4 separate regions of the Homo sapiens genome follow, and all the other regions are linked to region 3. The links are contacts of gene promoters, found by promoter capture Hi-C in blood cells and fetal thymus (Javierre and others, 2016). All regions are on one chromosome and are shown on one strand. Each heading gives the region's core, a stretch centred on a gene start or on the middle of the fragment in contact. The rest is flanking DNA. Distances are from core to core; before and after follow the strand shown. Region 1 overlaps LINC02828 (long intergenic non-protein coding RNA 2828). Region 2 overlaps ACOT13 (acyl-CoA thioesterase 13). Region 3 holds the start of ALDH5A1 (aldehyde dehydrogenase 5 family member A1). Region 4 has its middle 6.3 kb from the start of C6orf62.

Evidence for each region. Contacts are between HindIII fragments. The CHiCAGO score rates a contact against its expected background, and 5 or more counts as called.
Region 1: a contact is called between a fragment that was not itself captured here and the fragment with the promoter of ALDH5A1 in region 3, in 1 of 17 cell types (naive B cells). The highest score is 5.3, in naive B cells.
Region 2: a contact is called between a fragment that was not itself captured here and the fragment with the promoter of ALDH5A1 in region 3, in 2 of 17 cell types (naive B cells and erythroblasts). The highest score is 6.3, in naive B cells.
Region 4: a contact is called between a fragment that was not itself captured here and the fragment with the promoter of ALDH5A1 in region 3, in 3 of 17 cell types (fetal thymus, naive CD4 T cells and naive CD8 T cells). The highest score is 7.6, in fetal thymus.

Annotation. Positions count from the first base shown.
Region 1 is chr6:24,742,701-24,745,400 of GRCh38, reverse strand. The region is part of intron 1 of LINC02828 (long intergenic non-protein coding RNA 2828); the gene reads right to left. Among named protein-coding and RNA genes, the nearest start is that of LINC02828, 1.7 kb to the right of the region's middle. RefSeq lists an enhancer at 1,787-1,876. The HindIII fragment of the contact is 1,353 bases long and covers 721-2,073 here.
Region 2 is chr6:24,672,836-24,675,535 of GRCh38, reverse strand. The region is part of intron 1 of ACOT13 (acyl-CoA thioesterase 13); the gene reads right to left. It overlaps LOC124901279 (a long non-coding RNA gene), which reads left to right. Exons shown (of 2, transcript XR_007059509.1): 1 at 1-2,700. Among named protein-coding and RNA genes, the nearest start is that of ACOT13, 7.1 kb to the right of the region's middle. The HindIII fragment of the contact is 425 bases long and covers 1,175-1,599 here.
Region 3 is chr6:24,493,546-24,496,245 of GRCh38, reverse strand. It overlaps ALDH5A1 (aldehyde dehydrogenase 5 family member A1), which reads right to left and starts at 1,277. Exons shown (of 10, transcript NM_001080.3): 1 at 896-1,277. The coding sequence starts at 1,249. It also overlaps a transcript of GPLD1 not described here. RefSeq lists a silencer at 882-1,271. The HindIII fragment of the contact is 3,166 bases long and covers 1-2,268 here.
Region 4 is chr6:24,724,153-24,726,852 of GRCh38, reverse strand. No RefSeq gene overlaps it. Among named protein-coding and RNA genes, the nearest start is that of C6orf62, 6.3 kb to the right of the region's middle. The HindIII fragment of the contact is 4,468 bases long and covers 1-2,700 here.

The DNA of each region.
Region 1 (2,700 bases), core at 148-2,647, 250 kb before region 3:
TCTACTTTCTCAACTGGCACTCTGGGATTTAAGCGGTGATATGACGGGGTGGTCTGGTGAGGACTAGACTAGGAGTGTGGCTAATCAGGAGGCTGGTGGACACTAATAGAAAGGTAAGACGTCGAGTACCAGAAGAGCTCATTAATATACAATTAAAGAGGTGACGCAGGTCCTATAAGATGTGGGAGAAGGGAAGTTCCATTTTAAGAAGTGAGCTGAGGAATAGGAGACACGAGGCCTGTGTGGTCTAGGCAGACAGTCTAGAAGGTCAACGTCTGCAGGAACTGCATGAACAAGCAGGGTGAAACCAAAGCTGCAGTCTAATCTTAGGGCAAAAGTGATTTCCCCATTTTATACTGCTCTCTGGAATTGGACAGCCTTAGGTCCAAATCTACTTATGACATTCAGAAGGAAATAAAAAACCTGAGGTAACTCCACCTTCTCCACAGATTTAAATCCTGTGTTGGATGCTGAAGAAAAGCTACATATCTCTCCCCTACTAGACTTTCCTCAAAATTCAGTTCCACATAGTACTGAATACTTTATTTATTGATTTATTTAGAGATAGGTCTTGCTATGTTGCCCAAGCTGGACTCAAACTCCTGGGCTCAAATGATCCTCTTGCCCCAGCCTCCTGAGTAGCTGGGACTCTGTGCCAGCACACCTGGAGCTGATATTTTTCCTTTCATATCTCATGAAAATAACCTTGGGTTAGAAGCTTGTCCTTCCTTCATGACCAGGCCATACGTTTGGTTCCATTATCAAAGTGAAAGCCATCTCCTTTCCATCCTCCTAAGCAAGAAAATCTCCCTTATATGTCAGTAAAAGTACCAAGCACCTACATTCTTTCTAATTCTCGCCTGCTATCAAGAAAGTATAAAACGAACAATAGTGGGGAGAGAAAAGGTGACGAAGAGAGGGAGGTAGTTTAAGTTGTGCTGATTTCATTATTTTAATAGCCAGGGATGGAAATAAATCATCTAAAGATGATAAATCAAGTACGTGGCAAAAACCGCAATTACTTTTGCACCAACCTAATAGAATAAGTATATTTAGAAACGCAAAGATAAAGGCCAGGCGTGGTGGTTCACGCCTATAATCCTAGCACTTTGGGAGGCCTAAGTGGGTGGATCACTTGAGGCCAGGAGTTCAAGACCAGCCTGGCCAACATGGTGAAACCATGTCTCTACAAAAAAAAAAAAAAAAAAAAAAGCGAAGATAAATACTAAGAACAGCAGAAAAAGGGAAGTGATAGTGTGCTAATTTTGTCAGTGTTCATAGTATGGAGTCAACTGGTTTTGCTTGAAGAAAGAGGATTAGGTTTATTATATAAACTTGTAGTTATAAGGTAACCACTAGAACAAAAATTTATTTCCCTATAAACTATTAGGAAACACACACATGCAAACACAAAGAAAATACAGTCCAGTAGAGAAGTGTTCAAAAAGTAACAACAACAACAAAAACCCAGAAAATATCATACAAAATTTGATACAGAATTAAGACCAAACTTATATGTATATGGGCTAAATTCACTGTGACAGACACTGTTGCTTACTCAACAGCCATTTCCCTGCTCCTGCCCCACTGCCTTATTTTGTCTGGGGAATGTACCCAGCCCTAGCAGATGAGTCATTATTAGCTAAGCCAGTCATAGCCATTCTGTGTCCTTCTGTCAGCCTTCCTTACATCTAAGAGTAGTCAGTTATATGGCAAAGAGATTTGAGGGGAAGTCTACTACAGGGCTACTGGGAAAGGTAATCTTTCGCCTGATAAGAGTAGCCCCAGAAGGATAAAGACTTTTACCCTGACTACCCTGTTTTCTGCCTTTGAACTGTGATGTTGGGAGCTGTGGCAGCCATTTTGAATTTATGAGTTAACAAGAATAAGGACTGGCAGAGCAGAAGGAAGGAGCCTAAGATCTGCTGACATTGTTGAGCTCCTGAATGAATGCCAGCTACCAAGTTGCAGCATGACTCATATCTTTACTTCCAACTTTCATTTCTTTCTTCAGGCTTATATTACTAAGAGGTCATGACTAATCTCACTTAACGAAGTATTCCTGTCAAAGCTTTTAGCCATTTGCCTTTGCAGACAGTTTAGACATTTTACTTGGAGCAGAGAATAGTTGATTTTGTGCTAAAAGTCTTCCTAGCAGAGACTCTTCCTGGCTTCAGATGATATCAATGACCTTAATGTTCAGCTTGTGGCATAGAATTCCAGAACTCTGGAAACAGCAATGCAACAACAGAAAATGATTCGGGAAAGAGCTTCTTTAAGGTCACACACATGGATTTCGTAAACGGCCCAGATTGTCTTTAGTTCTTTGTTATTTCTTTTGTTTTACAGATGCTTGAGCTTTTGTTAGTGAATAAGTATTACTATTGCTTGGTATCTTTTACCGAATTCGTATGAAATTCTTATGAATTTTTGCCTGTATGAAATTCATAATCTTACCAATGGGTTTTCTTTCTCTCCTCAAGCTTTCCTTCCATTCCCTTACTTCACATTCAATGAATTTCTTGTGTATGCCACTACCAAGTCTCAAGCTCCTACAATTATTCTAATTTCTACTTCTGTGTATTGGTACGCCATCTCTCCACCTTGCCTCCTCCCTCTCTGGGAGTCTTATCCCCCTCCTTTCTAAAATAAATTCATCTAAGGTGTTCCCAACCATCCTAGGCAAACCTTCAGAGGACT
Region 2 (2,700 bases), core at 138-2,637, 180 kb before region 3:
CTCAAAATAAGACATTTATGCAGCCAACAGATACATGAAAAAATGCTCTTCATCACTGGCCATCAGAGAAATGCAAATCAAAACCACAATGAGATACCATCTCACACCAGTTAGAATGGTGATCATTAAAAAGTCAGGAAACAACAGGTGCTGGACAGGATGTGGAGAAATAGGAACACTTTTACACTGTTGGTGGGACTGTAAACTAGTTCAACCATTGTAGAAGACACTGGCAATTCCTCAAGGATCTACACCTAGAAATACCATTTGACCCAGCCATCCCATTACTGGGTATATACCCAAAGGATTATAAATCATGCTGCTGTAAAGACACATGCACATGTATGTTTACTGCAGCACTATTCACCATAGCAAAGACTTGGAACCAACACAAATGTCCATGAATGATAGACTGGAATAAGAAAATGTGGCACATATATACCATGGAATACTATGCAGCCATAAAAAAGGATGAGTTCATGTCCTTTGTAGGGACACGGATGAAGCTGGAAACCATCATTCTCAGCAAACTATTTCAAGGAAAGAAAACCAAACACCACATGTTCTCACTCATAGATGGGAACTGAACAATGAGAACACTTGGACACAGGGTGGGGAACATCACACACCGGGGCCTGTCGTGGGGTGGGGGGAGGGGGGAGGGATAGCATTAGGAGATATACCTAATGTAAATGATGAGTTAATGGGTGCAGCACACCAACATGGCACATGTATACATATGTAACAAACCTGCACGTTGCACACATGTACCCTAGAACTTAAAGTATAATAAGAAAATAAAAAAACAGTTGAACTCTAGGGCTGGGTGCACTGACTCATGCCTGTAATCCCAGCATTTTGGGAGGCCAAGGCAGTCAGATCACTTGAGGTCAGGAGTTTGAGACTAGCTTGGCCAACATGGTGAAACCCTGTCTCTACTAAATATACAAAAAATGAAAATTAGCCAGGCGTGGTGGCAGGCGCCTGTAATCCCACCTACTCAGGAGGCTGACGCAGGAGAATAACTTGAACACAGGAAGCAGACGCTGCACTCAGCTGAAATCACGCAACTGCACTCCAGCCTGGGTGACAGAATGAGACTCTATCTCAAAAAAACAAAAAAACAAACAAAACCCCCCAAAAACGGTGAACAAGTTTTGTCTAATTCAAAGCTTATTTAGGCCAGGGGCAGCGGCTCATGCCTGCAATCCCAGCACTTTGGGAGGCCGTGGCATGCAGATCACTTGAAGTCAGTTCAAGACCAGCTTGATCAACATGGTGAAACCCTGTCCCTACTATAAATATAAAATTAGTTGGGCATTGTGGTGCACGTGTAATCCCAGCGACTCGAGAGGCTGAGGCAGGAGAATCACTTGAACCCAGGAGGTGGAGGTTGCAGTGAGCCAAGATCGGGCCATTGCCTTCCAGCCTGGGTGCCAGAGCAAGACTCTGTCTCAGATAAAAAACAAACAAACAAAAAAAACCCCACAAAACTTATTTAAAGGTTATGTATACAACAAGGTAAAGGAATCAGGAAATAAGAGAGATGTTGTAAAGGAAGTTATAAAACAAATTTTTTTTGTATGTGGTAAGAAAGCTTAGAAATAATTTTACATGAGAAAGAATACTGTATGGTAAATTTAGTCCTAAGATAAAAGTTCAAGCATGTCATGAATGGTCTGTGTATGTCACAATAAGAGGATTTGTTTTAAAAAAATTGTATATGATCATGTTTACAATTAAAAGGAAATTATAATGCTCTTTCTAGAGACTGGGCTTCATGTTAAAAAAGACACATATACACGAAATTATTGGTTAGAAAAATAAACTTTTCTTAAGGGGTTAACTTACTCTTAATAAATTATAAGAGAATTTGCCTACGAATGGTGGCTTCTGCCTGTAATCCCAGCACTTTGGGAGGCCAAGACAGGTGGATCACTTGAGGTCAGGAGTTGTAGACTAGCCCGGCCAACGTAGTGACACCTCGTCTCTAACAAAAATACAAAAATTAGCCAGGCCTGGTGGCATGTGCCTGTAGTCCCAGCTACTTGGCAGGCTGAGGCACAAGAATTGCTTGAACCCAAGAGGCAGAGGCTGCAGTGAGCCAAGATTGCACCAGTGCACTCCAAACTGGGCAACAGTGCGAGACTCTATTTCAAAAAAAAAATTATAAGAGAATTTAATTTTTTTTTAAAACTGAAAGTTCAATTTTTATTGCATCTTGCCATTTTTTTTCAGCTTTCTCTCCCCTTTAAAAAGGCACACTGTCTTAAAGGTCTAAAGGAAGTGTTTTCTTCCAACATCATGTTCTGTGCATTGCAGAAGGTCTTTTCTTTTGCTTTTTGGTAACTGACCTAACAGAGTTTACATTTTGTTGAAATAATTCCTATGTTTAGGAAAAAACTGAGATTAAAAAAAGATTTTTTAATTAACATGATTACAACTGGGTATTTTCCTGTATGTGCTTTTAAAGTCCTTGTGACCTTAGGTTACAGGGCTTTGACTCCTGGGTCTAAAAAGGACACCAAGTCCTACTAAATCTTAAACACTGACAGCAATTGAAGCTGTCATCTTCAGGCCCCGTAGAAGACGCCAATCAAAATAAACTGCATTCCTGAGATACACGGCCAGAAATTAAAGGCATTCAACTCCTCAAGGCCCAGAGACTATCGAAGAAGAGGTGGGCAGGTAAGACTGTAA
Region 3 (2,700 bases), core at 28-2,527:
CCTTCTTTCGTTTAACTGAGGTATCCCAAGCACCTCCAACAGTGCAGGGCATACAGCAGGTGCTCAGTAAACAGCTGATGGATGAATGAGTGCTAAGACTCTCTTGTACTCGTAGGGATCGCTGGATGCATTCCTTCAGAGGGAGAGCTTTGAAGGACACGGTAAAAAATTTCACTGCGTTGACTCCAGGTTTAATAATATAATATTAGAAGGAAGAAACTACTTTCTTAGTTTTCTTCTTACTCTATTCTTCCCATTTAATGGCCCTCCACCCCTTACTCCCAATTCTCCAGTGTTCTCTATGCAATGGCCAATAGCAGCATTTATCCATTTAGGGTGAAAACCTGGAGAACGCTCCTGGATTTCTCTCTTCCCCTGCACAAAACCCAAATCTTTCTACAGTTCTCTCCGTTTCCGATCCCATGATTCTGGCCAGGGGCCCTCACTACCAGCCTTCTCAAGGGCCGCTGAAGCAGCCTCCTGCGTGGGCTCCCTGCAGCTGCGGAGATATTTCAGCTACTCTGAAGGGCCACACGTGCTCTCACTTCCCTGACACCCCTCCCCTTTCTCCCCGCCCCTCCACGGTTAGGCTTGTTGACCATAACAAGCAGCTCGCTTGTATTAGGCGCTCACGTTCTGCCTCCCCTACTGGGCAGTGCATAACTTGATGAGGCTTGAGGGCAGGGGTCGTGTCCCTAGTGCCCGGCTCAAAGTGGAAGCTCCAAACTTATTTGTCGGTCGTCTCCCTTGTTGCTCTGACTTTCCACTTTGTATACCCTGGGGAACTGAGCACAGGAGGGAGGCGACGCGGCTGGTGTCACTTTGGGGTAAAGCCCCCTCTGCTCCCCGCCGTGTCCCCGGCCAGCTCTGGCCCCCTGCATCCGGGCTCTCTCACCTTGGCGGAGACCTCCCTCCAGCGGCAGAAAGCCTCGTAGGCAGCGCGCACGGCGGCGCGGGCCTCTCGCACCCCGCAGTCGGCTACCATGCCCAGAGCGGCGCCGCTGGCCGGGTCTTGCACGGGGAAGGTGGCGGCGGCCGGGAGCCAGCGGCCGCCCACGAAGCTGTCGGTGCGCAGCAGCGCCGCAGAGAGGCCCGCCAGGCGCCCAGCGTAGCAGCGGAGCTGGGCCGGGCCGGGCGCAGGCCCGGAGGCAGGGACCAGGCCGCCGGCGCGGGGGCGGAGGCGGCAGCCTGGAAACGTCGACCCGAGGCGCCGGGCCCCACAGCTCCGCAGCCAAATGCAGGTCGCCATGGCCCGGGCAACGACGGCGACAGGAAACAGGCAAGCGGGCGCGCGCGCACGGGAACGCAGGGGTCGCGGGGAAGCAAGAGGAGCGAGGAGGCGCCGGGGACGCGCGGGGAAAGCGTGGGAGCTGGCGGAAGGTTGCAGAGCCACAGAGCAGCGCCCTCTCTCCGCGTCTTTCTCGCTGCACCGCCGCGCCGCCCTCTGCACCTTGCCCTAAGCGCCGCGCGGCTTCTCTCCTGGCGCGACCTTCTCCCGGGGGAGGGTTGGGTTCGGGGATGGAGAAGGCTCGCCAGTAGATGCACCTGCGGACTGCTGTCACCTTTTCACTTTTCGGGTGCTCATTTGTCACTAACTGCTCCTGAGCCCCCAATCGCTGCTAGAGACCCACTCTCTCCCCTTAGCATCCCCCAAATTCGGCATCCCCGGAATTTGTGCGCGGTCCATAGATGCGCTGGTGCCTGCCCTAAATGCCAAGGCCGTGATCACGCTTCTTCAGTTGTAGCTCCTGAGCACGTAGTATTGATTGGGAGCGATCGTTCTCTGAGGGGTCGAAGTGTGACCCCGCGTTCTGCTGCCTGGCTGCTTTTTTGGGTGTGTGTCTAGGCATTCTCCTAGGGTTGCTCCCGATAAATAACAGCGCTTTGGAAATAAACAGACTAGGATCCAAACTCAAGTCTGTTGCCGACAAGCTGTGTGACCGACAGGTTAACCTTAGTCCAGTCACTTATAAAATAGAACCATATCTACCCCATTTTGTTGTGAGATAACGTAAAATGCTCATTACAGTTGCCACATTAAATTCAATATAGCGTTCAAAGTCATACTAGCTACCCTAGTCAAGCCACTAGTAAGATTAAAGTTGGGTCACCAACTAGTAAATGGAAGCATTTGTCAAAATTGAATCAACCAAGGTATAAGGATTGAGCATACTATCCAACCAAGGTATTTGAGCACCTTTAAACAGCATTCTTCATCCGTTAAAAAATTAGACTTGGGCTTAAGACTCTGAAAGCAGCAGGGAAGCTTAAAACCTAATGAGGATAAAAATAAAAATAGCAGGCGTATGCTGGGAATTTGTGGGTGCAAATGAAGCCCAGCCCTATGCATTGATTTTAGGTTACATATCTCCCTTTCTCAACTCCTACAGCGTTGAGAGTATCTTGCTAGCTTTCACCTTTTTCTAGGACGTTGAATTTTTTTCTAGGACATTTGCAAAATGCCGAGGCAGTAACTTTAAATTTTGACTTTGTCTTTTGCTGAGTCAGATCCATTGAGTTTTGAGCCAGTCACATATGGCAGAAGTGATAACAGTAGAGTTTAATCAATTTCACACTATTTTGCTCTGTATTTTATTGCAGGAACTGGGGAGAACCAGGGAGTCCTAATAGGGATGTGGGCCAGTAGGTATCACAGGTGGGGCTGGGGAGCTGGCGTGTTTACATCTCCTGCCTGCGGAG
Region 4 (2,700 bases), core at 172-2,671, 230 kb before region 3:
CTGGTACTGTGTATGCTTATATATGTATATATTTGCACATAGGCTTATATATATACTAACATGTCTTATTACTGGACAAAGAATTAATGGACGTCCATAATTATAGTATACTTACATGATTTTAGATAAGTGGAATTACCTTACCTGTGGAAAAAATTGTTATACATGTATATATCTTTCCCATTCCTTTCCAACACCTAATCTTTGTGGAATAGAGAATGGAATGTGTTCTGGGAAGGGAGGAAAAAAATTCTAAAACATTTAAACTTTCCTTCATATGTTAATTGCTCAAATTTGCCTTCTTTGTATGTGGGAATAGGGTAAGAAGAGTGGCACGAACTCTATAATATTTTAACATTTTCTTTCTAAGGATGATGATGGAGTTCTAACAAAAGTGTCAGAAGGTTGCTTTTTCAATTTATCTACTATAACCTTCCTAGACACGTTAAATGGAATAGTAAGAGCATTTTGAATTGTGGGAGTGACATCTGGAATCTAGAAAAATATTTGAAATGAAATTAGGAAGTAGTCAAGAAGCAAAAGTCAGTGAGAGCCCGGGGTTAAGGAAAACTAAATAGAAGTGTGTTTGATAACAAATTGAGACTAACAGGCAAAGATAATGGGTAAAAAATATTCCTTATTAAATGGTACCAGCAGATTTGTTTGGACAGCAATCTGTATAGCTTTAACCCAAAGTGTAAACAAAAGGTGTCTAATTAGTATTTTCTGATAATGCTGGTGGGCATAAAGCATGAGAAGTGGAAAAGAAAAAAAGAAAGGCAGGCGAGAGAAAAAAAAGGAACAGGGGAAAGAAGAAGTTAATAAATAAAGAAAATACATGGTGGGATAGACGTACTCACTTGAAAATGCCTCTGGTTCTTAACCCTGTCCCAAGCTCCAGGACAATGGCTGCTACCTGGCCAAATCTTATTTTTCTTTTTTCTTTTTCTTTCTTTTTTTTTATTTTGAGACGGAGTTTTGCTCTTGTTGCCCAGGCTGGAGGGCAATGGCTCGATCTCGGCTCACTGCAACCTCCGCCTCCTGGGTTCAAGAGATTCTCCTGCCTCAGGCCCCCGAGTAGCTGGGATTACAGGAGTCCACCATCACACCTGGCTAATTTTGTATTTTTAAAAGAGGCAGGGTTTCACCATGTTGTCCAGGCTGGTCTGGAATGCCTGACCTCAGGTGATCCACCCGCCTCAGTCTCCCAAAGTGCTGGGATTACAGGCTAGAGACACTGCACCCGGCTCAAATCTCATTTTTCAAGCCTACAACTTGTTTTAGGCCTTCAATAAATATTCAACGATCAGCCTGCAAATAAGCACTGACCTCTATAGTTTGGGCTAACATGAAATAAGGGTGAGACTAAAGAAGAAACTACCAAGCTATCCCCTGATCCTCCTAAAAAGGGTAAGAATAGCTCTCAAAACAAACATAGTTTCTCCTCTTAATACCCTTTTGGTTTCATAACCATGCAGCTCTGCTGTAGATGCGAGGTCTGTATGTGCTAGAGTACATATTGTGAAAATCCCCATTGGATTATGAAATTTTATTAACACATAATATCATAATTATCTTAGATGATAAATCTGTAGAGTTGAAATCTGGAGACAAGATCCTTGGTGTGGCTGCTTTCAGGATCAAACTGTAGAGCAATAGAACTTGTTCTCAAGACCTGTAGAGTCTAACCATAAACTTGTTCTGCTGTAGACGTTTATCATGCTTATTGAACTGTTAATCATAAATATGGCCAAAATTCAAGGCCCATGTCTGACAAATTTCATAGCACTAATGAAGGGACAAGATGTTTGAGAACCCTGAGAAGTCTAATATGCTTGAGCATGTTGAGAAAACTAGATTTCTGTAAAAGAAGAGCATGTGTGTACAGACAATGTATGTTTTAAAGGTAAAAGAAAAGGCTGGCTCTTTTTAGAAAAGTGAAGGCCAATTGTTAAATACTTTATTGTTTATCTTATTGTCATTTATTTAGGCTACACAAGCACAGGTTTGAGAAATCATTTCCTAACTTGCTATAAATGTCAGAGACTGGGATTATCCGAGGTTGTCCTTCTTTAAAGATTGGAAGTTAACACAGGAGCCCGCCCAAGCTGGCCTGCATTGTGTTTCTTCAGAAAGGAGGCTCGCACAGAATCTCTATAAGGTGTTATTTCATTAAAATGTAACCTTTGCAGTGATATCTGCATTTCAACCAGGGAAATTTCAATGTATCTAGTGGTATAATTTAAAACTCCAAAAGGGAAGTTAAGCAGATATTTTTAGCCAAGGTGCCACCATCAAATCATCACTCCACAAATCCTATTGTGTTTGAAGCAGCCTAACCCTAAGTAAGCCATTTCTAACACAATGAAATGCATTTCTCCACAGTTAAAGAAGCTAAATCTTAAGTGAATGCTCTCTGACTTTTATCTGAATTTCATTGAGAAACGTTTGGTCACGGCTTTTAAAAATTTTAATTCCTTCGACTACCTTCTTATTTTATAGCCCTTTCAAGTTACAGAGAAAATTGAGCTAGCAGTGTTTTCGTCCTCCAGGGGACATTGCTGCTATTTCTTGGCTCATCTCATTAAGACCTAGCACAGTCCCATAACACAGTTTCATAGGATGTGCTCAGCTGTGACCAGGTGTCTCCAATTCTGTTTCACAGTAGCTGAAACTAAAAACTTCATTTTTTCCTCAACA